Linked DNA regions of Homo sapiens: regions 1 and 3 are each linked to region 2. The links are contacts of gene promoters, found by promoter capture Hi-C in blood cells and fetal thymus (Javierre and others, 2016). All regions are on one chromosome and are shown on one strand. Each heading gives the region's core, a stretch centred on a gene start or on the middle of the fragment in contact. The rest is flanking DNA. Distances are from core to core; before and after follow the strand shown. Region 1 has its middle 69 kb from the start of SDR9C7. Region 2 holds the start of RDH16 (retinol dehydrogenase 16). Region 3 has its middle 77 kb from the start of HSD17B6.

Evidence for each region. Contacts are between HindIII fragments. The CHiCAGO score rates a contact against its expected background, and 5 or more counts as called.
Region 1: a fragment that was not itself captured here is called in contact with the fragment with the promoter of RDH16 in region 2 in 4 of 17 cell types (erythroblasts, M0 macrophages, megakaryocytes and 1 more); the score reaches 8.5 in erythroblasts.
Region 3: a contact is called between a fragment that was not itself captured here and the fragment with the promoter of RDH16 in region 2, in 5 of 17 cell types (M0 macrophages, M2 macrophages, erythroblasts and 2 more). The highest score is 8.2, in M0 macrophages.

Annotation. Positions count from the first base shown.
Region 1 is chr12:56,864,065-56,866,973 of GRCh38, forward strand. No RefSeq gene overlaps it. Among named protein-coding and RNA genes, the nearest start is that of SDR9C7, 69 kb to the right of the region's middle. The HindIII fragment of the contact is 2,184 bases long and covers 394-2,577 here.
Region 2 is chr12:56,956,062-56,959,087 of GRCh38, forward strand. RDH16 (retinol dehydrogenase 16) reads right to left here and starts at 1,547. Exons shown (of 4, transcript NM_003708.5): 1 at 1,089-1,547. The coding sequence starts at 1,401. The HindIII fragment of the contact is 6,494 bases long and covers 1-3,026 here.
Region 3 is chr12:56,839,250-56,842,151 of GRCh38, forward strand. No RefSeq gene overlaps it. Among named protein-coding and RNA genes, the nearest start is that of HSD17B6, 77 kb to the left of the region's middle. The HindIII fragment of the contact is 725 bases long and covers 1,145-1,869 here.

The sequences.
Region 1 (2,909 bases), core at 236-2,735, 92 kb before region 2:
GGCCATGTGGTAGAAAAGAAAACCCCATTTTCAGGGAAGGAATTCAAGTCAGCTACAGAAATTGGCTTAAGAGGAGCCAAATGTTAGTAACCAAGACAATTGGGAAAATGCCTTGAAACCATGACAGAGACCTTCAGAGCAGCCCCTCCCATCACAGGTCCAGAGGCCTAGAATGGAAAAATTGTTTCTTGGGCCAGGCCAAGGGCCCTGCTGCCCTGCACAACCTTGGAACAGTGCTCCCTGCACCCCAGCTGCTCCAGCTCCAGCTATGGTTAAAAGGGCTCCAGATATATCTCAGGCCACTGCTTCAGAGGGTGCAAGCCTTTAAGACTTGGCAGTTTCTTTGTGGTGCTAAGCCTGTGGGTGCGCAGAGGGAAAAAGTTGAGTCTTGGAAGCTTCCACCTAGATTTCAGAGAATTTATGGAAACACCTGGATGTCCAGGCAGAATTCTGATGCAGGGATGGAGCCCTCATGGAGAACCTCTACTAGGACAGTGTGGAGGGGAAATATGAGGTTGGAGCCCCCACATAGAGTTCCCACTGGGGTACTGCATAGTGGAGCTGTGAGAAGAGGGCCACTATCCTCCAGACACCAGAATCGTAGATCCATTGGCAGCTTGTACCATGTACCTGAAAAAGCTGCAGGCACTCAATGCCAGCCCTTGAGAGCAGCCATGGGAGCTGAGCCCTGCAAGCCAGAGGAGCAGTGCTGCCCAAGGCTTTGGGAGCCCACCCCTTGCATCAGTGTAGCCTACATGTGAGACATGGAGCCAAAGGAGATTATTTTGGGGCTTCAAGATTTAATGACTGCCCTACTGGATTTTGGACTTGCATGGGACCTGTAGCCCCTTTGTTTTGGTGATTTATCTCTTTTGGAATGGGTGTATTTATTCAATGTCTGTAGCCCCATTGTATCTTGGAAGTAACTAACTTGTCTTTGATTTTACAGGCTCACAGGTGGAAGGGACTTGCCTTGCCTCAGATGAGGCTTTGGACTGTGGACTCTTGAGTTAATGCTGAAATATGTTAAGATTTTGGGGGACTCTTGAGAAGTGATGATTGTATTTTGTAATGTGAGAAGAGCCTGAGATTTGGGAGGGGCCAAGTGCAGAATGATACAATTTGAATCTGTGTTCCTGCCCAATCTTACATAGAATTGTAATTCATAATGTTGGAGGAGGGGGCCTAATGAGAGGTGATTGGATCATGGGGGCAGATTTCCCCCTTGCTGTTCTCATGATAGTGAGTGAGTTCCCATGAGATCTGGTGGTTTAAAGGTGTATAGCACCTCCCCCTTCACTCTTTTCTTCCTGCTCCTGCATGTAAGATGTGCCTACTTGTCCTTTGCATTCTGCCATGATTGTAAGTTTCCTGAGGCCTTCTCAGCCATACTTCCTGTAACTTTGAGCACCTCAGTTAGCCATGGGGAATTCATTTAGTCTGTTGGCCAGGGGCATACTTTGACATTTCACTCCCTTTGGTTGAAACCTGCCATAGGCAGCATTGACTACCAGTGTTATGTCTTTGTCCCATATTATTGTTGAAGTGATGTGGCTACCTGCTCTGGGTCTGTCTAGTCCCTTGGTGGGACTTCTGTGACTAAGAGCTCATAGCCAATTTGAACAGCCTGGGCCAGGCAAGGTAGAAAGTCAGGTAAGCACCTGTTAATTGTCTAAGAGTGTTCCTTGTTGGAGTTTGGCAGAGGCATCAGGAAATTAGGAGAATTCAGGGTGTAGTCCAGTCTACAGGTAAATAACAAGGATCTGAAAACAATGTACAGATCTACAATATAGTAACAGTTATATAGTTTTTCTTTGGAAACATAAGTTTTTCTTTTTACACTGATTTTATAGGAATCTTAAATTTAAAACCTTTTGAGTTTAGGAAGCCAAATGAAGGCAAACTTTAGATTTCACTTACAATCTTAGTGTCCTTGGGCATGCCTGGAAGTAGCAATTTTGACTCACTTACGGTAAGCCTGGGAACTCTTGAAGCCAGGCATTTTATGTACATTCTTAAATATGACATTTCAGTCAAAACCTTGATATTATAACTGAGAATTCCACTTGTATCCTGCTTATAGAGAGCATGTAAATAAAATAAGAATACTCAAAAATAGTTTCTAAATTTTGGAGATCTCAAGTAGGGAGAAAAAGCAAATGCTTCCACTTTTGTTAACGAAAGGATATTTTACCAAATTATTACAAACTATAAAAAATTATGAAGTAAATTTCCTTGAATCTGAAAAACAAAACATGTAAGACCAAGAATGCTCTAAATAAAAGTCATAAAACATTATCCTTATCAATTACTTAATTTCATGTAATCAATTTTACCTTGCTTGACACTGATCAGCAGTTCCATGAAAAGCAATTTTGGACTATAGCTGATTGACAACACATATCACTATATCTCAGAATTTTATCACATGAAATTTTGAAACACATTTTAATAACACATTTACACATGCAACTTAAAGAAAGTTAAAAATAATTTTTATTTGACAATGCTTCCTAATAATATCTAAAAGATTTAATTTAGGGCTTTGATCCCAGGAAACCTTCCAAAGATGTCACAAGCTTTAAAGTTCAAAGTATCTGATTCAATAGAATCAAAGTTCGCTGCAAGATGATAGTTATTCATTTAACCAGACTGACAATCAAAAGATGTCAAAAACAATAGAAAAAGTTACATGAATGTAAAAACCTTAACCCTTTTAAAGCTCAGTTTTCCTAAGTAATAAAAAACCTAATAAAGATAACTTGAAGCACAGGAAATTATCTTGGTAAAACAGAATCTTTGTTTCCTAGGCCAATTGCCCACAAGGCAAAGAAAAGAAAATCTCTTGCAATGTGATTGCTTTTTCTTTTGGTAAGTTCATTTAGATAACCTGAAAGTTAAACCTGATG
Region 2 (3,026 bases), core at 297-2,796:
TCTGGAAGGGTTGGCCCAGGCATATGAACCTGTCCCCTGCTCAATAACAGGCCCTGCCCTGATGCAAATGCAGATTCCTCCACCCAGACATCTCATTTTTAAGAATCCAATCAATACTCACACTTACAGAGACGTTGGCAAATAAAAGTCCACCAAGATGACATTTATGATGAATAAAAAGCAGGAAGGAATTTCATATCCAACCACTCAGTATGGATTACATAGGTAAGGCTATTGGAAGGATACAGTATTCTAAATAATTAAATATAATTTTATAAAAACAGTCATTATGGTGGAAAAGTGTTCATCTTCTCCAGAGAATTTAAGGTGACTGAAACTAAGAACAAAATATAAAATCCTAATTTTGTATAATTGTAAAAAGGACTTATGTGTGGATGACAATTTCAGGGAAACTTGTTTTCATCTTTATTCTTTTCAGTGTTTTCCACAAAGATCATATTCTGATTTATTGTTACATAAAATAAATCCATGTTTCTTTCTTCCTCTATAATAAGACAGATGAATTAGTGTAGTGAAAAGAAGAAAGAAAGAAAAAGTAACCCCTTACTAGTTCTGCCTTCCTTAAGCAGTCCTTAAGCTGATACTCTCCTCTGAAGATGGAGATGATCGTAGCTCTCAGTGGACGCTGATGGGCCCTAGCAAAAACAAGGTAAAGTGCTGGGAACATAAGCCTGGCTCCAGCACAGGCACAGCCTCCGTGCACACTTGCAGCCCTGTGCTCCCTTCTCAACGATGCTCCAGCAAGTCTCCAGATCTCTAACCCAGGCTCTTAGCATCAAACAACACATGACTTCTGCTTAGACAGGAGGGAGAGGATAGAGAGGAATTCTGGAGAGAAAATCTCATCAGGGCAAACTCTCCCCAAGACTAGACACCTCCAATGTCGGGAGAGGTTAAGGATTGAAAAGAGATGGGGTTCAGGCAGCCTGTTAAGTGAGAAATATTAGAAAGCTACTGTTACTTCAACCTGGAAAGACACTGTAGGAATCTTCCCAGGGAGCAGACAGGAGGTGGTCCCTTCACACAGAGGGAAGACACAGACAGACTTGACAAACCTGGGTGGTTACCTTTGTCTCTCACGCACTCCTTCACCCACTGGGCGGCTGCAGCAACGCTCTCTGTCTTGGTAACATCCAGGGTCACCGTCTCCAGCCTGTCTGAAGTCTGGCCCCTCAGCTGCTCGGCTCCTTTCTCCGTCAGACATGCAGCCAGCACCCGCAAGCCTCGTGCATCCAGCTGTCTGGCCAGCAGTTTCCCGAAGCCAGAGTCACAGCCCGTGATGAACACATACTTATCTCTCAGGTGGCTCAGCACCTGCCTCTCCCGGTACCAGTGCAGAAGGTAGTACAGGCCCACGAAAACCGCCAGGTAGAGCCACATGGCTTTGCAGAGGACAGACACAGACAGGCTGTGGGGGAAACCAGAGTCTGGCCTCTGTTCAGACAGGAGGATTTAAGAACACAGAGGGCTGTGGTAGGCAGGGAAGCCCTCAGGCATTTTGGCAGGGAATCCTCACTTTCCTCCCTGATGACTGCCTTTCTGCAACATATTTATTCTGGCCCCACCTCTCTGCTCTTTGAACTGCTTTTGCAGTACTCATGCACACCTTTGCACACCTCAAGTCCTGCCCAGTAGGAAGATACTATCTTCCTACTGGGCAATGTGCCCCTAGTCTCCTGATTTCTCTCTGCCTTGCTATGCCCACTACATGCATGCTGTGTCCATGAAGGAGCACACACATATATTCACACAGGAACATACACAGAACTCACACAGGCTTACACACAGCTGCCCACACACACTCTCCATGGCAAACACACCCCTCTGCTCTAAGTACAGGGGTCAAAACTGTCTCTACAAAGCTCCGATACCAACACTCCTGGTCCATGACCTTCTGAACATAGAAAGGCCTTATTGGGTAGCTACCCATGGTTTCCAGGCACATTAGGTGGAAATCCCTCTCTGAGCCTGAGTTTCCTCATCCTGCTCCGCACCCCAGAATCAATCACTCCTCTGAAAACTAGGGCACGGTCAGGCTGTCTAGGATGAGAAGGAGAAGGCAAAGAGTGAGCAGGAACAGGTTCCCTCCTGCTATAATAGTTTTTTGGGGCAGAAGGATTGCAGGATCCCACAGGGAGAATCCAACCTCAGAGGTAAAGAAAGCAGGGAGAGGATGGGCAAATAGGAACAGCTCCGGTCTGCAGCTCCCAGTGTGACTGATGCAGAAAATGGGTGATTTCTGCATTTCCAGCTGAGGTACCTGGTTCATCTCACTGGGACTGGTTGGACAGTGCGTGCAGCCCACAGAGGGTGAGCCGAAGCAAGGCAGGGCATTGCCTTACCCAGGAAGTGTAAGAGGTCAGGGGATTTCCCTTTCCTAGACAAGGGAAGCCGTGACAGACTGTACCTGGAAAAACAAGACACTCCTGCTCAAATACTGCACTTTTCCAATGGTCTTAGCAAATGGCACACCAGGAGATTATATCCTGTGCCTGGTTTGGTGGGTCCCATTCCCACAGAGCTTTGCTCACTGCTAGTGCAGTAGTCTGAGATCAACCTGCAAGGCAGCAGCCTGGCAGGAGGAGGGTTGCTCACCATTGCTGAGGCTTGAGTAGGAAAGCAAAGCAGCTGGGCAGCTCAAACTGGGCGAAGCCCACTGCAGCAAGGCAAGGCTTTCTGCCTCTATAGACTCCACCTCTGGGAGCAGTGCATAACTGAACAAAAGGCAGCAGAAACCTCTGCAGACTTAAACATCCCTGTCTGACAGCACTGAAGAGAGCAGTGGTTCTCCCAGCATGGTGTTTGAGCTCTTAGAACAGACAGACTGCCTTCTCAAATGGGTCCCTGAACCCTGTGTAGACTAACTGGGAGACACCTCCCAGTAGGGGCCGACTGACATCTCATACAGGTGGGTGCCCCTCTGGGACGAAGTTTCCAGAGGAAGGATCAGGCAACAATATTTGCTGTTCTGCAATATTTGCTGTTCTGCAGCCTCTGCTGGTGAT
Region 3 (2,902 bases), core at 257-2,756, 120 kb before region 2:
TGTAAAGTGTCTTAACGACCTCTTTCTTTGAGTGACTATAGACTTTTTACTCACTGAGAAATCTTGTTCTGTAAAAGCAAAGACTATCAAACACTTCAGTGTTTAAAATTCTATTGTAAGAGGCCAGGTATGGTGACTCACATCTATAATCCCAGCACTTTGGGAGGCCAAGGTGGGAGGATGGCTTGAGGCAAGAAGTTTGAGACCAGTTTGGGGAATAAAGCAAAACCTCATGTCTAAAAAAATTATATCATAAAAATGAATATCCCACCCTTGCCTGAGTCACTTTGACACAGAAGCAGCCTCATTATATAACCCAGGTGCAGAACTTTAGATAGGGGTTGCTGGAAACATTTCACATCTAAACTGTGCTTTCTAATGAAACAAGACCTTGGGACCATTTTGTAATCCAGACCTGGAGTTGATCTCTTTTCACAGAGCCCTGCTTTGCTTGGAGTCTATCAAGAAATTGCTTCATCTCCATATCCTATAATAATTCTCTTTTCCTTTGATCAGACAACCCATGAGTCCCCTGGTATGCAGTCTTCCTCATGGCAATAGGACAAAAGACCTGACTTTGTTGGACCTTAAGTTTATTCCTGGTGCCTCAGGCTGATTAGGAGACCTTTTGGCTTCAGCCTCTCCCTGTGGGGTTTTCTGTCCCTCACCCCTCAGAGGACTTGTGTAGGATGCCAGCTGGCCCTGAGGCCTGTGCCACATTGATGCAAGGATGAGAGTCAAGATCTGCCATGATAAGTCAAGGGAATGTGTAAAATGGCATGTTGGAACTCAGCTGCAGCTGGTCCTGCTGTCCTGCTCGGTGTACCCCCCAGCCACCAGAGGGCCCCAAATGGCCTGCTTTGGAGTTTCTCCAGCAATCATTGAAATTTGGCTCTTGTCTTACAGTCTTTGGTTAGGCTCACAAAGTTTCTGCCAATTCCCTGGGCTGCTTCAAAAACTCTAGCTTACAACTGATGGTAGGAAAACAACACCTAGAAAAACACAGACCATGCCTTAGTGATCAGAATATAGATGTGATTTGATTGCCTCATACTAAGACTCAGCTAGGGGTACTTTTTGAATAATAAAACTTATTAAGAATCCCCCTCGATTAATCAGGTCTTTCTCATCTTATGATTAAGTAAGCTTGGAAAACACTGATTTACACAAGTGATCCACCCTCAGTAAGGCAAAATAAAATGTAGACAGTGTAATTACCTCCTGCTTTAAAGGATGCAGCTAAGAATCCTTTTGTGAAGTAAGTTTCTCCAAATAAGAGTGAAAAAGAATAAGCACCTCTTATTTACTAAGTTAGCATTTTCATGCCCTGGATTTTTGAGGGCCACTGTTCTTGCAGTTTGCTTTCTATACCAGTTTCTATACCTTTATTATCTATACCTCCCTATCTTTCATTCATTCCCTCCTTCTACCCAGATATATACACGTACCACACAACCTGAATATTTCAGAGCAATCTTGATTCCAAGCATTCATTCACTGTTCTCATAAAAATGCTTGTATTTGTCAGTCCTAAGAACAGTCATCATTCATAATGTATCTGTCAGCAATGAAAACACATCCCCAGTATATGCCTAAGCTAACCCCTAATATTTTGTACCTGGAACATTATCTGGCTAACCAGAGACATTGAGGACAAAGCAATTTGTCTGAAGGACAGACTCCCCCACTGCCCCCGCCATCCATCCCCTGCACTGTACTCTGTCCCCCATGCATCCTTCACTCCCTGGGTGGCTGCAGCGATATTCTCTGTCTTGGTGATGTCCAGGGTCACCGTCTCCAGCCTGTCTGAAGTCTGGCCCCTCAGCTGCTCTGCCTCCTTCTCCATCAGACACATAGCCAGCACCCTCAAGCTTTGCGTATCCAGCTGTCTTGCCAGCAGATTCCCGAAGCCCGAGTCACAGCCCATGATGAAGCAGTTATCTCAAGGGAGGCTCACCACCTGTCTCTCCCACTACCAGCGCAGAAGGTAGTACAGGCCCACGAGGGCTATCAGGGAGAGTCCCATGGCAGGGGTCTCTCCTTCACCTTGGGAAAGAAAGAAAATCTTCTAAACCTTAAAAAGTATGTTCTCTGACCACAATGGAATTAAATTAGGAATAAATAACAGAAAAGTATCCAAAAAATCTCCCAGTAGTTGGAAAATTACAAAATATTTGGCTAAATGATACATGCATGGATTAAAAAAGAAATACAAAGAAAAATTAGAATATATTTCAACTGAGTGAAAATGAAAATGTGGTACATTAAAGTTTGTGGAGTGGGGCTAAGCTGTGCTTAGAGAGAAATTTATAACACTAAATGCCTATATTAGAAAAGAAGAAAGGTTTCTTTTTTTAACATTTATTTTAAGATCGGGGTACACGTGAAGGATTGTTACATAGGTAAACGTGTATCATGGGGTTTGTTGTGTAGATTATTTCATCACCCAGGTATTAAGGCTAGTACCCATTAGTTATTTTTCTTGATCCTCTCCCTATCCCCACCCTCAACCCTCTGATAGACCCCAGTGTTCATTGTTCCCCTCTATATATCCATGTGTTCTCATCATTTAGCTTCCACTTATAAATGAGAACATGTAGTATTTGGTTTTCTGTTCCTGCATTAGTCTGCTAAGGATAATGACCTCCAATTCCATCCATGTCCCTGCAAAGGACGTGATTTCATTCTTTTGAATGGCTACATAGTATTCCATTGTGTTTATGTACCACATTCTTTATCCAGTCTATCATTGATGGGCATTTAGGTTGATTCCATCTCTTTGCTATTGTGAATAGTGCTGGAATGAACATATGCATGTATGTGTCTTTATGATAGAGTAACTTACATTCCTTTGGGTATATACCCAGTAATGGGATTTCTGGGTTGAATGGTAGTTCTGTCT